Regions from separate parts of the Homo sapiens genome. Here all the other regions are linked to region 5. The links are contacts of gene promoters, found by promoter capture Hi-C in blood cells and fetal thymus (Javierre and others, 2016). All regions are on one chromosome and are shown on one strand. Each heading gives the region's core, a stretch centred on a gene start or on the middle of the fragment in contact. The rest is flanking DNA. Distances are from core to core; before and after follow the strand shown. Region 1 overlaps EMC3 (ER membrane protein complex subunit 3). Region 2 overlaps EMC3 (ER membrane protein complex subunit 3). Region 3 has its middle 14 kb from the start of FANCD2. Region 4 overlaps MTMR14 (myotubularin related protein 14). Region 5 holds the start of TADA3 (transcriptional adaptor 3). Region 6 overlaps FANCD2 (FA complementation group D2).

Region 1 (2,864 bases), core at 365-2,864, 190 kb after region 5:
AGTGCTAATGTAAGGCTAAAATAAGAAATTTTACAGGTGCCAGAAAATGCTAAATGTCTGAGCTTTCCCCACTTCGCACTTTTCTACAGCCCTTCTTTCTGTGGTAAATACACTTTTTTTTTTTTTTTTAAATGAGATGGAGTCTCGCTCTGTCGCCAGGCTGGAGTGCAGTGGCATGATCTCGGCTCACCGCAACCTCTGCCTCCCGGATTCAAGCGATTCTCCTGCCTCAGCCTCCCGAGTAGCTGGGACTACAGGCACGTGCCATCACGCCCAGCTAATTTTTGTATTTTTAGTAGAGATGGGGTTTCACCATGTTGGCCAGGATGGTCTCAATCTCTTGACCTCATGATCTGCCTGCCTCGGCCTCTCAAAGTGTTGGGATTACAGGCGTAAGCCACCACACCCGGCCAGTAAGTTGACTTCTTTTCTGTTTTTTTGAGACAGAGTCTTGCTCTGTCACCCAGGTTGAAGTGCAGTGGCGCGATCTTGGCTCACTGCAAGCTCCGCCTCCTGGGTTCAAGCAATTCCACTGCCTCAGCCTCCCGAGTAGCTGGGACTACAGGCGCCCAGCATACCACGCTCAGCTAATTTTTTGTATTTTTAGTAGAGACGGGGTTTCACCATGTTAGCCAGGATGGTCTCGATCTCCTGACCTCGTGATCCGTCCGCCTCGGCCTCCCAAAGTGCTGGGAGTACAGGCATGAGCCACCATGCCCGGCCAGTAAGCTGACTTCTTAAGGTTCGCTCCAGGGTGGGGTGCTGGCTCTGGTCAGTTCTGAAACTAATGCTACAGAAAGATAAAGTGATCGCTGTAGTATAGTGGAAAAAGCCCAATACCCAGAAGGCTTGGTGTGAAGTCCTAAATGTCACCCTGTGTGACGCTGTAACGCACCTGGCACTCTTCTCAACGAACGGGTGGGATGGAACTTGTTAAAGCCTCTGTTTCTATAAAATGAGACAATATGTACCTCATAGAGTTGCTTTGAAGTTTTAAATAAGTTAATGAATGTAAGTACTTCACATAGTACCTGATATAGAGTAAATGGTTATTATTCTTCTTGGCATAATTGGGAAGAACTAACTGAAAATGTTACAGTAGTGCTTCCTAAACTTCAGTCACTCTCATGCCATGTTAGAATTTTTGTCCAACGCTTGTATCATTACATATTTAATACTTTTTATATATCAACTTTTTTCCCATCTATATGATTTTAAAGGAATCTTTAAATTACCAGCAAATGGAAATCCAGTATTGTCACAAAAAAGAAAGTAACTTAAGTACAGTAGAAACAAAACAACATTATTAAATTTTAACTAGACACTGTTACCTGTGAAAAGTTCTTAGCCTGAGGCTTACTCTCTTTATTAAAACGAGAAATTAATGTGAGAGAGAGGTGCTAAAGATATAGTAGCACTTACCTGAGATGATTTCTGAAAGTAATCAGAACTGACTGAAAATTGCTTGTTTTTCTAAGAGACAAGGTCTCGTTATGTTGCCCAGGCTGGTCTCCCACAATCCTCCTGCCTCAGCATCCCAAGTTGCTGGGAGAAAACTATTACTTTAATATGAGGGGCTACATGTCTAGATAACCACCTATAATCATCTCAAATTCCTTTATCTGTATATAAATATTGCAACGAGGGGCTGGTTGCCATGGCTCACACCTGTAATCCCAGCACTTTGGGAGGCCAAGGCAGGTGGATCACCTGAGGTCGAGTTCGAGAACAGCCTGGCCAAGATGGTGAAACCCTGTCTCTACTAAAAATACAAAAATTAGTCAGGTGTGGTGGTGCGGGCCTGTAATCCCAGCTACTCGGGGGGCTGAGGCAAGAGAATCGCTTGAACCCGGGAGGCGTAGACTGCAGTGAGCTGAGATGACGCCACCGCACTCCAGCCTGGGCAACGAGAGCGAAACTCCGTCTCAAAAATAAGCAAATAAATAGATAAATAAATAAATACTGCAATGAAATATGTGAGGAAGTTGCCTCCACTCTAGTGGGGGGAAATAATTACAATTCCTTACATCTCTAATGGCAGTTTTACAGACTGCAAAGCGCTTTGGTACTTGGCATCTCAGCTGACAGTCCCACCAGGCCCGACGCCTGGAACAGTAATTTGGTAGAATGCAGATTATCACACTCACTTGACTGGATGTTACAAAGACTAAACGCTGTAACGCACCTGGCACTCTTCTCAACGGAAGGGTGGGATGGAATAGTTCATAGGTAAACCCACCGAGGGTCGGCGACTAACCTAAAGGATTAACAGTACTGTTTTTTTCAACACTCAATACGTCCTAGATCCTGTGCTAAGGGACTTACAGACATCACCTAATTTGATTCCTACCTGTCTATGAAGCAGGTACTGTTATCATCCCCATTTCACAGAGGACAAAAGTGAAACACAGAGGTAACGGGTAAGGTCACCCTGTCAGAGGGGGCGCGACGTGAACCTAGGCAAATTGACACAACTCCTGCACTTTTTTGCCCAAGGTCACGGCGGTGTGAGGTAGGCTGGAGAAGGGAGGGCGCTGACCTGTCAGATACTTGTTCCTGGGTGAGCTTCTTGTCGCTCTGCAGCAGGATGGACACGTAGTGGCGGATCATGCCTACGAAGAAAGTGATGATAACGATGGGTAGGACCACCCAGAGGCGGATGTTGGAGTCGAGCAACAGTTCTGGCCCTGCCATCTTCACTGAAAGCTGGTTCCCAGTCTGGAATGGGCGAGCTTCTCTTCTCCGGGGCACAGTTGCTTCTCTTCGGCTTCGCCTCCGGGCCTTCTCAAGCCCCTTTGCCCGTGTACCCCAGAACTCTCCTGCGACTGTGAGCCGAGCTTACTGCCTTCAGCTGGGCTGCCTGG
Region 2 (2,855 bases), core at 196-2,695, 170 kb after region 5:
TCTATGTAGGCTCAAAATGAACAGGGAGATTCATTTTGTTCATCCATAGTTTCTAAACCTTTGGTAGTGGAAATGGTTTACTTGTGTAAAGAAAGTTAACAATACTAACAAAACTAATGGTAAAACACAGGGTGTTTGGATCCCAAGAAAACAGGAGTTTACTGTGGCTAGATGTCAGGCTGACTGCACATAATCATTAGCTATAATTAACAATGCTTCCTTCGAAGACTGGGCTTCTGCTAAGATAGATATATATATATATATATATATATTTTTTTTTTTTTTTCAGATGGAGTTTTGCTCTGTCGCCCAGGCTGGAGCGCAGTGGCACGATGTCAGCTCACTGCATCCTCCGCCTCCTAGGTTTAAGCAGTTCTCTGCCTCAGCCTCCCAAGTAGCTGGGATTACAGGTGCCCACCACCACGCCCGGCTAATTTTTTTTTGTATTTTTAGTAGAGATGGGGTTTCACCATCTTGGCCAGGCTGATCTTGAACTCCTGATCTCGTGACCCACCCGCCTCAGCCTCCCAAAATCCTGGGATTACAGGCGTGAGCCACTGCGCCTGGCCAAGATTTTATATATTATCAGTAGCCTGAGGTTTCCCCCTTTCTCTGACTTTCATTACTAGAGTCACCAGAAGGAACATTTACAACATTTTAAAAATAACAAGTTGCCCAGCATACTCCTATTTCCTCTAGTTTCAAACATAAAGGGGAACCCAGCCCAGACAAGAACAAGCCTTGCTGCATGCCTGCCAGCTCGTGCATCCTCCTTTTTATTTCAAGAGGTGCCAGCTCCAAACAAAGTTACAAGGTTAAGTGCAACTCCAAGTTCCTGACACAGCTAATCCCTGCTCGGTCTTCAAAAAATAGAGGTCTGTAATTCCTTTTTGAACATGCCTTCGAAGTGGAGGTCTTTGGCCATGAGCTCTTCTTCGACATCATCTAGTGCCCACTGGTGATCCGTCAGCTCCAAAGCTTCCCACTCTGTCTGTAATGGAAGAGAACACCCAGGCAGGAAGAGAGGGAATTGTTACTGACAGCTGTGGCTAACCTTTAGTGACCACTTACTCTGGGCCAAAAGCTGGAGTGAGCTATCTGCATGTATAAGCTCATTCAATCCTACAAGGGAAATGCTGCTACCCCAATCCTCTCCTCCCCCTCTTCCTGCCACCCCTCAATTTATAGATAAGGAGACTAAGACTAAGAGGTCAAATAATTTGTTCAAGGCCACTGGCACTAGGAACTAATGGAGCTGAGATTTAAATTGTGGTCTGACTGCAAAGTCCCCAGCGCTTAACCCGTCTATCAGCTCACACTCACTAAGCACCTTTGTGCCCCACAGTACTCTTGAGAGATGTACAACAGACAAATTAGTGCAGATTCTCAGCTCTTTAATCAAGGGACTTGCCATCTGGTTTAAATGGTGCATGGTCCACAATGCTTTGACATAAATGGCCCAGGGTATCTTCAGTGGGCCTAAGAACACTTCCTCCAACCTTATGTCCAGACACACAATGGCACTTCATTACAGTTTGTGGGAGTCCAGTAATTTTTAATCACTGGAATAAAGACTTTGATGATGTGAACTAAAAAACTGTTTTTGGCATATAATCATTTAGATGTAAACTAGTAATATGTTGAGCAGAAATAAATTTGCAGAATTTTCCAAGAAATTACATTTCTCAAATATTCTATTAATCTGACTACTTTGCCTTAAATTAGTGAGTGTCTAAAAAATGCTTTATGAGTTGGGTGCAGTGGCATGCATCTACAGTCCCAGCTACTCTGGAGGCTGAGGCTAAGGATAGCTTGAGCCCAGGAGTTTGGGACTGCCCTGGACAACCTATCTTTAGATGAGCCTAGAGATAGTAATACCTCGTCTTTAAAAATAAATTAAAAAAAAAAAAAAAAAGCTTGCGAGATGTGGTAGCTCACACCTGTAATCCTAGCACTTTGGGAGGCCAAGGCAGGAGGATCACTTGAGGATGGGAGTTCAAGACCAGCCTGGGCAACACAGCGAGATCCCATCTCTATACAAATTTAAAAAAAAATTAGTTGGGTGTGGTGGTGTGTGCCTGTAGTACTGGCTTCTCGTGTACCAGTACTGAGGCTGAGGTGGGAGGAATGCTTAAGTCCAGGAGTTCGAGGCTGCAGTGAGCAAGGATTGTACCACTGCACTCCAGCCTGGGTGACACAGTGAGACCCTCGATAGATAGATAGATAGATAGATAGATAGATAGATAGATAGATAGAACAAGCTTATTTAATGTGAAATACAAATGTTAGCTCATGAGTGAGTTTTTCAGATATAATTTACATGTCATACAATTTACCCCTTTAATGTGTATAATTTAGTGATTTTTAGTATATTCATATGTGCAACCACCACCACTATCTAATTGCAGAACACTTTTATCATAACAAAAAGAAACCACATACCAAACAGTAGACAGCTCCCATTATTCACCTCCCACAACCTCTGGCAACTACTACGTTATCTTCCGTATCTTTTTTTCACTTATTCTGGGCATATGTGGCCTTTTGTTATTTTCTTTCACTTAGCATGTTTTCAAGGTTCTTCCCTGTTTAACATGATTCAGTATTCCACTCTTATTTATAGCTGAATAACACTCCATTGTATATATTCTACTGTACATACAATGTACATTATATTCCAAAATATTCCATTGTTTATTCATTCATTAGATGATGGACATTTGGGTTATGTCTACTTTTTGATTATTATGAATCATGCTCTGAACACATTCTCACATAAGTTTCTGTGTGGACATACATTTTCAGTTCTCTTGAGTATTTACTTAAGAGTGAAATTACTGGATCATATAGTAACT
Region 3 (2,700 bases), core at 1-2,500, 220 kb after region 5:
GAGAGTGCCCGCCTGTGTTGGGGCAGCAGCGCCTGGAAGGAGGCGGCCCCGGCCGCCCGCAGAGCTCCGCCTCCCAGGCCGCGCTCTGTGTCTTTGTCCAGGCTGGGAGGGGCCGATGGCCGTTAAAAGCCCCGCCCGCCGCCGCTCGCCGCCGCCTGGCCCCACCCCCGTATCCATGGAGACCCGACGCCGCCGGACTGCCTGTCAGCTGCAGCTCGGTAGCCTGGGGCCCGCCCCGTTCGCCCGGTCTGTCTTCCGCGGGCCATGCTACCCAAGCTGACTCCGACTGGAGTCACTGGGATACCTGTCCACGCCTCCTCTCCTGGGCCACTTCCCTGCGGGGCGGGCAGTAGGGCAGGGCGGGGTGGGAATCTGTTGTACTCAGGGAAGGGAATTGCCCCCAGGCCCAGAGAGTTTGGAGCCTGGGGTACTGCCACCAACAGCCCAGAACTCTCCCAGCTGGGCACCACCCCCCCACACCCGCCGCCAGAGTCTTCCTGCAGCAAGGCTCTCTTCAGGAGGGGCTGTGAATGTTTCCCCGGGGTGGGGCTAAGCCAGAGCCCAGAGGTTAGCCCCTGGGGCACGGATCCCCCAGGTCACTCACTTCCCACGGGCTGCAGTGAAGGAGGCTCTGAGGGGAGGATGGCCGGTTTTTCCCCTGCAAGGGAAGGCATTCCTGCTCTGGGGACTGCCTCCCTCTCCCTCTTCTGCCAGCCACCGCAGAAACTTGGCCAAGCTGACCACTCTGTCAGTGATCTCTGCCAGGGAGGCTGAAAAACATCCAGCCCCACCCGTGGTCCCTTCCTGCCTCAGGCTATGTGACAGTATGACTGCCCACCTATTTCTTCGTTTCCACTGGAAACACTAGTAAAACAATTCCTCAGCCTCGACCCCAGGGAGTGGCCCCCACTAAACCAGCTGACGTGGGACCCCTGGGTCAATGCTGGCCAGAAGACACTGCTGACACCATACAGAGACCCTGGACACCTATGCCCCCTACAACCCTGGTAATGGTGGCCATGGGATTCCAAGCAGCACACATCTCGGAATCAATATTCTCCCCAACAAAAAATACATATGTGATTATCCCATGGCCACGTACCTAATCCTGGGGTAGAGAAAAGTACAGAGGAGGAAGCGCTCCATCATTGGAGCACAGCCCTTCCTCCTGGGGGTCCCACCTGTTCTTCCCCATCTGACAAAGTCTGCCTTCCTTGTGGAACCAAAGAGGGCTCAAAGGGAGCCAGCTGTTCCCACTTTTAATTTTTGACTGCCCAAGGACGGCGAGAAGTGAAGGCAGAAGACCACCATTCCTGCTCAGAACTCTTCCTGGGCTGGGGGTACCAGTGCCCTGCCATGGACATATGGGGCCTTGGCGTCATACTCTACCATATGGTGGCCGGGGCCCTACCCTTCTATTCAGGGAACACGATGGACCTCAAGAATCAAATTTTCACAGGAAGCTACCACGCCTCACCATTTTTTTTCCCTTCAACTTGAAAGATTCATTCAAAAGTTACTAACACTAGAACCCAGGGAGTGGCCCCCACTGAAAGAAGTTTTGAGGGACTGGTGGGTGAACTGTGGTTAGGAGATGCCACGGACAACATACAAAGAGCCATGAGCCAACATACCACCCAGCTCATGGTGGCCATGGGATTCCAGGCCAAGAACATCTCTGTGCCAATCAAAGAAAAAGCGTTTCACTATCCTATGGCCACCTACCTCATTTTAGAACAAACAAAAGAAGCAGTCCACCATCAGACCATGGTCCCTTCCTCCTGGGGTTCCCACCTGTCCTTCTCTATCCACTGAAGTTTCCACCTTCTCTCTCCCACTGAAGCAGGCTCACAGCGAGCCAGCTTGTCCCATATTCAGCATTCAGCAGAAGACCACTGTTCCTGCCAGTGCCCCTGCCAGCCTGCAGAGGAAGCCGGACAGTTTTGGCAAAGCCCCCCAGCGTGACGCTGTGGCCTCTACCTCCACCCACACCACCAGCAGCAGTGGCAGAGACCCAGAAACGTCCCTTGCCCAGCGACAATCATCACAGGAAGCCAGTGTTGTCCAAGCTGGACAGCCTGAGGCTGTGACATCAGCCTAGCCAACAAGAAACTGGGGCTGCCGCAGCCGGACGCAGTGGCTCATGCCTGTAATCCCAGCACTTTGGGAGGCCAAGGCGGGAGGATCACGAGGTCAGGAAATCGAGACCATCCTGGCTAACATGGTGAAACTCCATCTCTACTAAAAATACAAAAAATTAGCCAGGCTTGGTGGCGGGCACCTATAGTCCCAGCTACTCAGAAGGCTGAGGCAGGAGAGTGGCGTGAACCTGGGAGGTGGAGTTTGCAGTGAGCCGAGATTGTGCCACTGCACTCCAGCCTGGGGGACAGAGTGAGACTCCGTCTCAAAAAAAAAAAAAAAAAAAAAGAAAAGAAAAGAAACTGGGGCTGCCACAGGGCTGCCGGAGGACGCATCTTTCACTTCTATTAAGATTTTGCTGCATGTGTCCACCGAAGAAAAGGAGGAATAAGATTGCTCCAACATAGTTGCACAGATGAAGACAAAAATCAGCTAGGTGGGGTGGTGAAGCCTCACTTCTTGCATTTTACTATTTACTATTTATTCTGTCTCTTTTTTTTTTTTTTTTTGAGGCAGAGTCTCGCTCTGTCGCCCAGGCTGGAGTGCAGTGGCACAATCTTG
Region 4 (2,896 bases), core at 265-2,764, 130 kb before region 5:
ATTTTAAAGACTGTGTTTTTATTAACCCTAACAGCATCCAGATACATTTAAAGAGGTACCACAAGTATGTGGGAGTCACTGATTTCTTCCTTCTGGGATAATATTTGGGTGCATGTGTACAAGAGGAGCTGTACGCAGATTCCTAGAAGGATTAGGATGTGGAAGCAATTAAATTCCCTCTAGGAGTTGGTCTGAAAGCTCAACACTTTTAAGGAAGGAACATGAGTATTTTTCCTTCCTTCTACTTGGTTACTCTGTGTAGCTGGGAAAGCTTCCTGCTCTAACTTTCCTGCCTCCTGTTTCTGTTGCTACCAGAAGCTCTGACTGGCTGGGGTGAGCTTTGCTAAAGGTTGGTAGGTGAGTTTATGAGAGCGGACCCTTATTTTAGGGAAGCGTGATTTGATATGGGTATGACTTGCTGGAGCTAACTTCTAAACCTCACTCTCAAGTTCTAGAAGCTCACTTACCAAGCCCAGTGCATTAACTACTACACGTCCCTGTGTCACACATGGCTTCTCTTATGCCTCCTTTGCTCTGTGCGCTGTTGGCCATATGGACTGTGAAAGCAGAGGCCTAGAGCCATGTGGACCAAGAAACGTCATCTCATTCTGCCCTCTAAAACAGCACTCCCCAACCTTTTTGGCACCAGGGACTGGTTTCATGGAAAACAATTTTTCCACGGCAGGGTGGAGAAAATGGTTTCAGATGAAACTGTTCCACCTCAGATCATGAGGCATTAGATTCTCTGCAACCCCAGTCCCTCACATGCGGAGTTCACAATAGGGTTCGAGCTCCTATGAGAATATAATGCCGCCACTGATGATCTGACAGGAGGTGGAAGTCAGACGGTAATGCTCACTTGCCTGCTGCTCACCTCCTGGTTCCTAATGGGGCATGGACTCGTACTGATCTGGGGCTCAGGGCCTGGGGACTGCTTGCTCTAAAAGATCACAAAAATACATATTCAGAGTTATGCAAAAAATAGATAGTCACAAAAATGGTCCTGTGATTTCCAGAGAGGGTCCCTAGGGCACCAGGTCTTATCCTGGGAGTTAAAAATTGGACACCCTAGACATAATATCCAGTTTTCTGTGTATATTTCTGAATTTTGTATATGTCTTCAGTTTAGCTCACTTTTTTTTTATCTTAAAGGTTCAGAAATCAGAGTGATTTAAGTTTTAATACCTATAATTAGCACTTTTTTTTTTTCCTGAAAAACTTAATATATCTCATGCCTGTGATCCCGGCACTTTGGGAGGCCGAGGTGGGCGGATCGCCTGAGGTCAGGAGTTTGAGGCCAGCCTGGCCAACGTGGTGAAACCCCGTCTCTACCAAAAATAAAAAAATTACCCAGGTGTGGTGGCTCACACCTGTAGTCACAGCATACTCGGGAGGCTGAGACAGGAGAATTGCTTGAACCCGGGAGGCAGAGGCTGTGGTGAGCCAAGATTGCGCCACTGCACTCTAGCCTGGGCAACAACAGTGAAACTCCGTCTCAAAAAAATAGATAGATAGACAGACAGATGATAGATGATATAAAATTTAGGAATGACATTTAATTTCAAGCAAGCATTATGTACACAGATCTAGTATGGGGGTCTGTGTGAATAAACACATATACACAAAGTGCCCACTTCAAAGTCAGCTTGACCTGCTTCTCTTGCCTGTGTGTTAGGTTTGAGAGTACCGTACAGGTGAGCAAGTTGCAAGACCTCATCCACCGCAGCAAGATGGCCCGGTGCAGAGGACGGTTTGTCTGCCCAGTAATCCTGTTCAAGGGCAAGGTAAGGCCCATACCATAGCTTCATGCTCCACGACTCTCTTCTGGGGTAGCTGACTTACTGCAAAGTATAGGGTCTTTTTTTCCCTCAACATTAGTAGCCAAGCATTGGGTGGTTACTGGGTGTTGTGGGAAGCAGTCCAGAGAAACAGACCAATTCTGACTGAAGGATGGTTCTAGGTAGAGAAGGGATGGTCACACCAGCATACCCCACCCCGTGTTCCAGAGCCAGACTGCCTAGGTTCAGATCCTGACTCTTATTTCCTGCCTATGCAGAGCCTCCTTTTCCTCTCCTATAAATTAAGAATAATAATCACCTATTTCAAAGGTTTGTGGATTAGATTAAATCAAATGAGTTCCTATATTGTTTTTCCATTCTTTCAATTATATAATTCACCAAGTATTTATTGTATATTATGTGCCAGACACTGCTTCAGGCCTTAAAATACATCACCATGTAAAGCAGACAAAAATCTTTATTGTCATGGAGCTTATATTCTAAGGACTTTTGTTAATTTAATTTGGCTCCCCAGTTTGGTTTCATTTTTATCTATCTTTTGGTGTACGGGATGTGCCCATTTCATTGCAGATGAAACAGAGGCTGAGAGTGACTAAGTAACTTCCCTAAGTAGAGGGTACACATCAGGGCAGAGGATGGAGGGGATTGAATGAAGACGGCTGAACGCTGAGCAGGGAGGTGGCTCTGTGTTTGCTAGGAGAGCCATTGTGACGTTTGAGCGGGGAAATTCCGAATGCAAGTAGCAACGGTGCGAAAATTGGTCCAAGAAGAGTGGACTGACATACAGAGAGCCTCAGAGGGGAAGGGAGCGGAATTCAGTCTATTCATTCCTTTAGCTGGTATCTGAGTGTCTCAGTGGTCAAGGGCAGGGCAATGGGGAGAGTCTGACTGTTGTCTCAGTCCCTGGTGTGCCTTTTTTGTAAATTGGGAAAGAGGAGGAAGGAAGGGAGACTCTGCCAAAAGCTTTCTTCTTCAGATCAGTTTTAGGGAAAAGTATGTATGGAAGTTAGGTCCTAGAAATTGATCTTCTTAAAGCTGTTGCCACTTTGGAAAGTTTTCATGTTCCCGAAAGTTATTGCAACTTTTTTTTTTTTGAG
Region 5 (2,795 bases), core at 91-2,590:
TGCGTCTCTCTCCCTCTCCCCACAAACCCCTGTACCCCAAGTCTCAGCATATGGGGCTAACTCAATGACCCATCCCATAACTTGTTGCAGTCCATCTCTGGTGCTGGCCCCTCTCTGGGGTTATCACCTGGGTTTCGGCCTCAAGCACACGCAGGCGCCGGCTGGCAGAAGACAGCAGGGTCTCCAGCTCCAGCTGCAGGGTGTCCAGCTCCTCGATGCCGATGCCATCATCCTCAGAGCGTGCCAGCACTGCCGTGTAGCGGGGACAGACCTTCAGGTGATCCACAGACTTGAAGTCGTGGAACTGCAAGGGGCAGTCTTTCAACTCACTCATGGCCCAGGATATGGGGATCCTGTGGAGCTGGAGAGGACAGGGCCATTGATGGGAGACAAAGTGGTCTGAGAAAAGCCCAAGGGCTTCTTACCTCCAGGGACAGCCTCAAGGAAGCCCAGCTTCAGTCCCTTACTGACAAAATTGATGGCACAGTTCCTACTCACAGGGCACTTAACTGGGTACCAAGCTAGGTGCAGAGCACTTTATCAGTTTATCTCACTGAATTTCTCACTCAGCACCATGAACAAGGACCATTGTGATCTCGTTTTTACAGAGAAAGAAACTGAGACTCTGTAAGGGTGGGTATGTGCCTATGCTTCCAAGATGCAATTTGAACCCCGCTAGTCTTGAGTCTGCACCCTGATCACCATGCTATACTGCTATGCCTTGCCTCGCCTTTCTGATGCTCTTTCCTTCCCTTCTATTTCTCTTGGGTTCTGCTAAGACTTTGAGTTCCAAGCACCCCATTCTTACCATGTTCTCTGGGACTCTTGGCCTCTTTTCTTACCCTATTCCACCTTTCTCCCTTCTCTAGTCACTAACAGTGGTTTAGAACGTGGGCTGGTAAGCCAGACAGACCTGGGTTCAAGCCCAGGCTTTACCATTCTCTACTTATATGCCCCTGAACATGTTATTTGACCTTTTTCAGTCTCAGTTTTTCCATCTGTAAAATGGGGACAAAAGAAGTCTCGGTCTGTTTCCCCATTAAAAGTCTGAATCTGAAAAATGGGGATAACAATAGTACCTACCTCCCTGGGATGTTCTGAGGATTAAGAGATGATGCCCGTCAAGAGCCCAGTTCAGTGTCTGGCACAGAAGTGGGACTGTTTAATGGCTGGCCCCGCCCGGGGGTCGCCCAAATGTCCCGCCTTCAGAGTCCTCGTTCTCTAGGGACACCCTAGTGCGACCCCCGCCCCCTCTACCTCCTCGCTGCGGCCTCCTACGGCCCCAGGGGCCGCGGGAGGGGGCGGGGAGTTCCGGTCGATGTGAGCAACCGCCCCGGAACTGGCTATGGGCGGGCCCCTTGCAGTTGACGCGGGGGCGGGGAGTCAGCGAGGGCGAGCCTACTGGAGTTTGCCGGGGGTGGGAAGAAGGTGGGCCTCGAGCAAAGCCGCTAGAGGTGGGGTGCGGGTGGTCGGCCTCAGGCGAGCCCCGGGGCACAGCCCGGGGCGGGAGGCGGAGCTTGGCGGCCGAGATCTCCGCGCTGCAGTTAGCCCCGCCGAGCGCCAGGAGCTGCGGGTAGGAGGGGCGAGAGAAAGGATGGGGGTACAGAACCGGAAGAAACGAAGGGCTCGTCCGCTTCGGCTTGTCCTAATTTGGTGCCCAATCTGAAGCTGGGCTGTACCATTGCATACCTGGGGGAGGCTGTGGCAAAGGTGACAAGAAGGCCGAAGGCACAAAGGGAAGCTGCACCCATTCCTGGAGGAGCTTAAATAGTGACTCGAGTGCAAGAATTTAAAAATACCGAGACAGCCCTAGGTGGAAAACTTCCGGAAGGCCCAAGCGTTCGTAAGGGCTCTCTACCCCGCTCGGAGCATAGATGGTACCGTCCGGAAGTCCGGGCGGAGACCGTAGCTGCGCTTCTCGCGAAAGGGCAGGCATCGCGGGGCTGGCCACTTCCGTACTTCCGCTTTCCGGCCCAGCCAGCGCCCGCGATGGTGAGAGAGCCGGGCCCCCGGCCAGGGACCCCCGGCTGTTCGGCCTCAGGGCAGTGGGTCGGTGGGAGATGTGGCTTTGCCGCAGGGGCGCGGGGCCGAGGGATGTCCGGGGGTTGTGGGGACACGATGAGGGTGGGAAAAAGAGACGGGGCGGGGGCCCGAGGTGAGGAAGGGGCGAGTGGGGGTACTCCCTGGTATGAAGTGGGCCTTGTGGCTTCACGGTCAGCCTTCGAAGCAGGTAGGGGCTTTTCCTGAGCCCTGTAGGAACCCGGAAGTGGGGTCTCCTAGGCTCTTTGGAGCATTTCGAGGGTACGTAGTCGGCCTCTTAGCCTCTGAGGCATGAAGCAAGTCCACCTGCCTATCCACAGTGGAACTTCACGACATACGCCCTTTGTCCTCTTCTGCCTTCCTGACCCTACAGTTGCTTAAGGCAGGCGGCCACACTTCCTTATCCCATTCTTGGTACCTCCAGCCCTGCTTCCACCCCATTGGAGGATCTCTCGTGTTGCTTCCATTCAGGCCCTTCCTGGTCAGAACTGAACTGTGTCAGCCTTAGTGTATGTTAGCTGTGATACTGCTCATCCCTCCCTTCCTGGAAGTCCTCCCTTTTTCATACATGTGGGCCTTTTTCATACATGTGGGCCTTTTTCATACGTGTGGGCATTCCTGGGAGTTGTGACTTTGGATGACCATCTCCCTCTTCGTCACACCTTCCCTGGTGATACCGATCTAGTCTCCTGGCTTCGATAACTTTCTTCATTCTGATGACTCCTAATCTGGCTTCTCAGCTCTCTTTCAAGGTT
Region 6 (2,700 bases), core at 16-2,515, 240 kb after region 5:
GGGCAGATCACGAGGTCAGGAGATTGAGACCATCTTGGCTAACATGGTGAAACCCCGTCTCTACTAAAAATACAAAAAATTAGCCGGGCGTGGTGGTGTGCACCTGTAGTCCCAGCTACTGGGAGGCTGAGGCAGGAGAATGGCATGAACCCGGGAGGCGGAGCTTGCAGTGAGCCAAGATCGCGCCACTGCACTCCAGCCTGGGCGACAGAGCAAGACTCCATTTCAAAAAAAAAAAAAAAAGAAAGAGGGAGAGGAATTGAAGAAGGAAAAAACAAAATGGCATCATTAAGGGAGAAGAGTAAATTTTAAACTTGGCTTCAAGTACCTGTTTGTTTCTTGTTTCTTATTTCTTTTTATGGGTTGAAAGTCTTGGGATTAAACCTATCTGAGCATTGTAGTCAAAGATATGATACAAAGAACCTTCCCCATTCTGTCTACCCTTTATTCAGATCATTGAGTCTCAAATTTGGTGTGTATCAGGATTATTATCTGAAGAACATAAAAAATTCGGATTCCTAGGTCCCATTCCCAAGATTTTGACTCAGTAACTCTGGTATATGGCATGGAATATGCCTTTTTTTTCCTTTGAGACAGAGTGTCACTCTGTTGCTCAGGCAGGAGTGAAGTGGCGCGATCTGGGCTCACTGCAACCTCTGCCTCCCGGGTTCAAGTGATTCTCCTCCTCAGCCTCCCGAGTAGTTGGTATTACAGGCGCACGCCACCACACCCAGTTAATTTTGTATTTTTAGTAGAGATGGGGTTTCACCACGTTAGCCAGGCTGGTCTTGAACTCCTGACCTCAGGTAATCAGCCTGCCTCGGCCTCCCAAAGTGCTGGGATTACAGGCGTGAGCCACTGTGCTGGGTCGGAAATATGCATTTTAATAAGCTTCCCAGGGATTCCAGTACAGTGGTTTGCAGGCAACAGCTTGAGAGACACTGGCTAGTTTAGTATTTGGGTGGAAAACATTTCTGTGGGTTATTCTTGTTAGGCACTTATTTGTTTGAATTTATTTTTTTAGAGATGGGGATTTCACTCTGTCACCCAGGCTGGAGTGCAGTGGTAATATCATAGCTCACTATAGCCTCAACCTCCTGGGCTCAAGTTATTCTTCCGCCTTAGCCTCCGAAGTAGCTGGGACTACAGGTGTGCGTCTCCTCACCTAACTAGTTTGTGTGTGGAGGGGGGGAATGGGGGTGAAGGGGGGGAGATGGGGGGGTGGTCTCACTTTGTTGCCCAGGCTGGTCTTGAACTCCTGGCTTCAAGTGATCCTCCTGCCTTGGCCTCCTAATTTGCTGGGATTACCACATGAGCCACCTTGCCTGGCCAGAAATGGCACATTTTGAATTCTTCAAATGAAAATAGGTGAAAATAATTCTATTTGTTTGTTTTGGAAGCCACTATTGCTGAAGACAGTTTATTTCACTACAGCATCAATCCTAGTATAATTTTTAAGGACACATCAGTTTTCCTCTCATGATTATTATTCCTGGGTTTAAGTTTTAATTTTTCCTTTACTATTTGCCATATTCTTGAAAATTTTTCTATTTTCAGAAACCAGGAAGCAACCACTTTCCAAAAAGACAAAGAAATCTCATATTGCTAATGAAGTTGAAGAAAATGACAGCATCTTTGTAAAGCTTCTTAAGATATCAGGAATTATTCTTAAAACGGGAGAGAGTCAGAATCAACTAGGTAATATTTTAATCTAATTTTATTCTCTGGGTTTAATGAAATAGTTCAGGACTGAATCATGGGTTTTCTAAATAGAGAGGCAATGAAGATTAGAAATCAGAGGGCCATCCATCTTGAGACAAAGTTGAAATTGCTTTTTAGAAAATGGTACAGTCAGGCCGGGCGCGGTGGCTCACGTTTATCATCCCAGCACTTTGGGAGGCTCGAGGCAGGCGGATTGCCTGAGCTCAGGAATTTGCGACCGGCCTGGGCAACACGTCTCTACTAAAATATAAAAAATTAGCCGGGCATGGTGGCATGTGCCTGTAGTCCCAGCTGCTTGGGCGCCTGAGTCAGGAGAATTGCTTGAACCCGGGAGGTGAAAGTTGCAGTGAGTCAAGATCGCACCACTGCACTCCAGCCTGGGCGACAAGAGTGAGACTCCATTTCCAAAAAACAAAAATGGAAAAAGAAAATGGTACAGTCTTTGGTCCTCATTACTATGTCTTAAGTAAAGCATTTCTCATCCTTTTATTAGAAAAAATATTATATATTATTTATTTTGTGTTTTCTTATGAAAAAATAAATATCCAGAAAGCAGCTGTATCAGTGTCAGAATAATTTCAGAAGAAAATTTATAAAGCCATATAAGATTCTGTTTTGGGGGAGCAGATTATTCTATCTTGCTAAGGTTATGGCAGGTCTTTTTTAGAACACTTAGTGGCTATCTGCTATCAAAGCTAAGTCTTTTTTTTTTTTTTTTTTTTGAGACGGAGTCTTGCTCTGTCGCCCAGGCTGGAGTGCAGTGGCGCGATCTCTGCTCACTGCAAGCTCCACCTCCCAGGTTCACACCATTCTGCCTCAGCTTCCCAAGTAGCTGGGACTACAGGCGCCCGCCACCATGCCTGACTAATTTTTTGTATTTTTAGTAGAGACGGAGTTTCACCGTGTTAGCCAGGATGGTCTTGATCTCCTGACCTTGTGATCCACCTGCCTCGGCCTCCCAAAGTGCTGGGATTACAG

Evidence for each region. The method cuts DNA at HindIII sites, captures the fragments that hold promoters and counts their contacts. A CHiCAGO score of 5 or more calls a contact.
Region 1: a fragment that was not itself captured here is called in contact with the fragment with the promoter of TADA3 in region 5 in 2 of 17 cell types (neutrophils and monocytes); the score reaches 6.1 in neutrophils.
Region 2: a fragment that was not itself captured here is called in contact with the fragment with the promoter of TADA3 in region 5 in 1 of 17 cell types (monocytes); the score reaches 5.7 in monocytes.
Region 3: a contact is called between a fragment that was not itself captured here and the fragment with the promoter of TADA3 in region 5, in 1 of 17 cell types (monocytes). The highest score is 6.4, in monocytes.
Region 4: a contact is called between a fragment that was not itself captured here and the fragment with the promoter of TADA3 in region 5, in 1 of 17 cell types (neutrophils). The highest score is 9.0, in neutrophils.
Region 6: a contact is called between a fragment that was not itself captured here and the fragment with the promoter of TADA3 in region 5, in 12 of 17 cell types (monocytes, naive B cells, erythroblasts and 9 more). The highest score is 9.9, in monocytes.

The regions. Positions count from the first base shown.
Region 1 is chr3:9,983,968-9,986,831 of GRCh38, forward strand. EMC3 (ER membrane protein complex subunit 3) reads right to left here. Exons shown (of 8, transcript NM_001394674.1): 1 at 2,540-2,864. The coding sequence starts at 2,694. Among named protein-coding and RNA genes, the nearest start is that of EMC3, 1.4 kb to the right of the region's middle. RefSeq lists enhancers at 2,692-2,864, 2,804-2,864. The HindIII fragment of the contact is 8,045 bases long and covers 1-2,864 here.
Region 2 is chr3:9,963,207-9,966,061 of GRCh38, forward strand. It overlaps EMC3 (ER membrane protein complex subunit 3), which reads right to left. Exons shown (of 8, transcript NM_001394674.1): 8 at 1-991. The coding sequence ends at 863. Among named protein-coding and RNA genes, the nearest start is that of PRRT3, 12 kb to the left of the region's middle. The HindIII fragment of the contact is 938 bases long and covers 977-1,914 here.
Region 3 is chr3:10,011,080-10,013,779 of GRCh38, forward strand. It overlaps a transcript of EMC3 not described here and the pseudogene MARK2P2. Among named protein-coding and RNA genes, the nearest start is that of FANCD2, 14 kb to the right of the region's middle. RefSeq lists a silencer at 40-269 and an enhancer at 68-593. The HindIII fragment of the contact is 6,602 bases long and covers 1-2,700 here.
Region 4 is chr3:9,660,592-9,663,487 of GRCh38, forward strand. MTMR14 (myotubularin related protein 14) reads left to right here. Exons shown (of 19, transcript NM_001077525.3): 3 at 1,676-1,784. Among named protein-coding and RNA genes, the nearest start is that of MTMR14, 13 kb to the left of the region's middle. The HindIII fragment of the contact is 2,491 bases long and covers 270-2,760 here.
Region 5 is chr3:9,791,133-9,793,927 of GRCh38, forward strand. TADA3 (transcriptional adaptor 3) reads right to left here and starts at 1,341. Exons shown (of 9, transcript NM_006354.5): 1 at 1,084-1,341; 2 at 128-361. The coding sequence starts at 334. It overlaps ARPC4-TTLL3 (ARPC4-TTLL3 readthrough), which reads left to right and starts at 1,416. Exons shown (of 12, transcript NM_001198793.1): 1 at 1,416-1,992. The coding sequence starts at 1,990. ARPC4 (actin related protein 2/3 complex subunit 4) reads left to right here and starts at 1,950. Exons shown (of 6, transcript NM_005718.5): 1 at 1,950-1,992. The coding sequence starts at 1,990. RefSeq lists enhancers at 1-168, 1,273-1,799, 1,726-1,825, 1,800-2,326, 2,526-2,615 and silencers at 1,156-1,245, 1,306-1,595. The HindIII fragment of the contact is 10,858 bases long and covers 1-2,795 here.
Region 6 is chr3:10,031,275-10,033,974 of GRCh38, forward strand. It overlaps FANCD2 (FA complementation group D2), which reads left to right. Exons shown (of 44, transcript NM_001018115.3): 3 at 1,558-1,698. Among named protein-coding and RNA genes, the nearest start is that of FANCD2, 6.2 kb to the left of the region's middle. The HindIII fragment of the contact is 752 bases long and covers 890-1,641 here.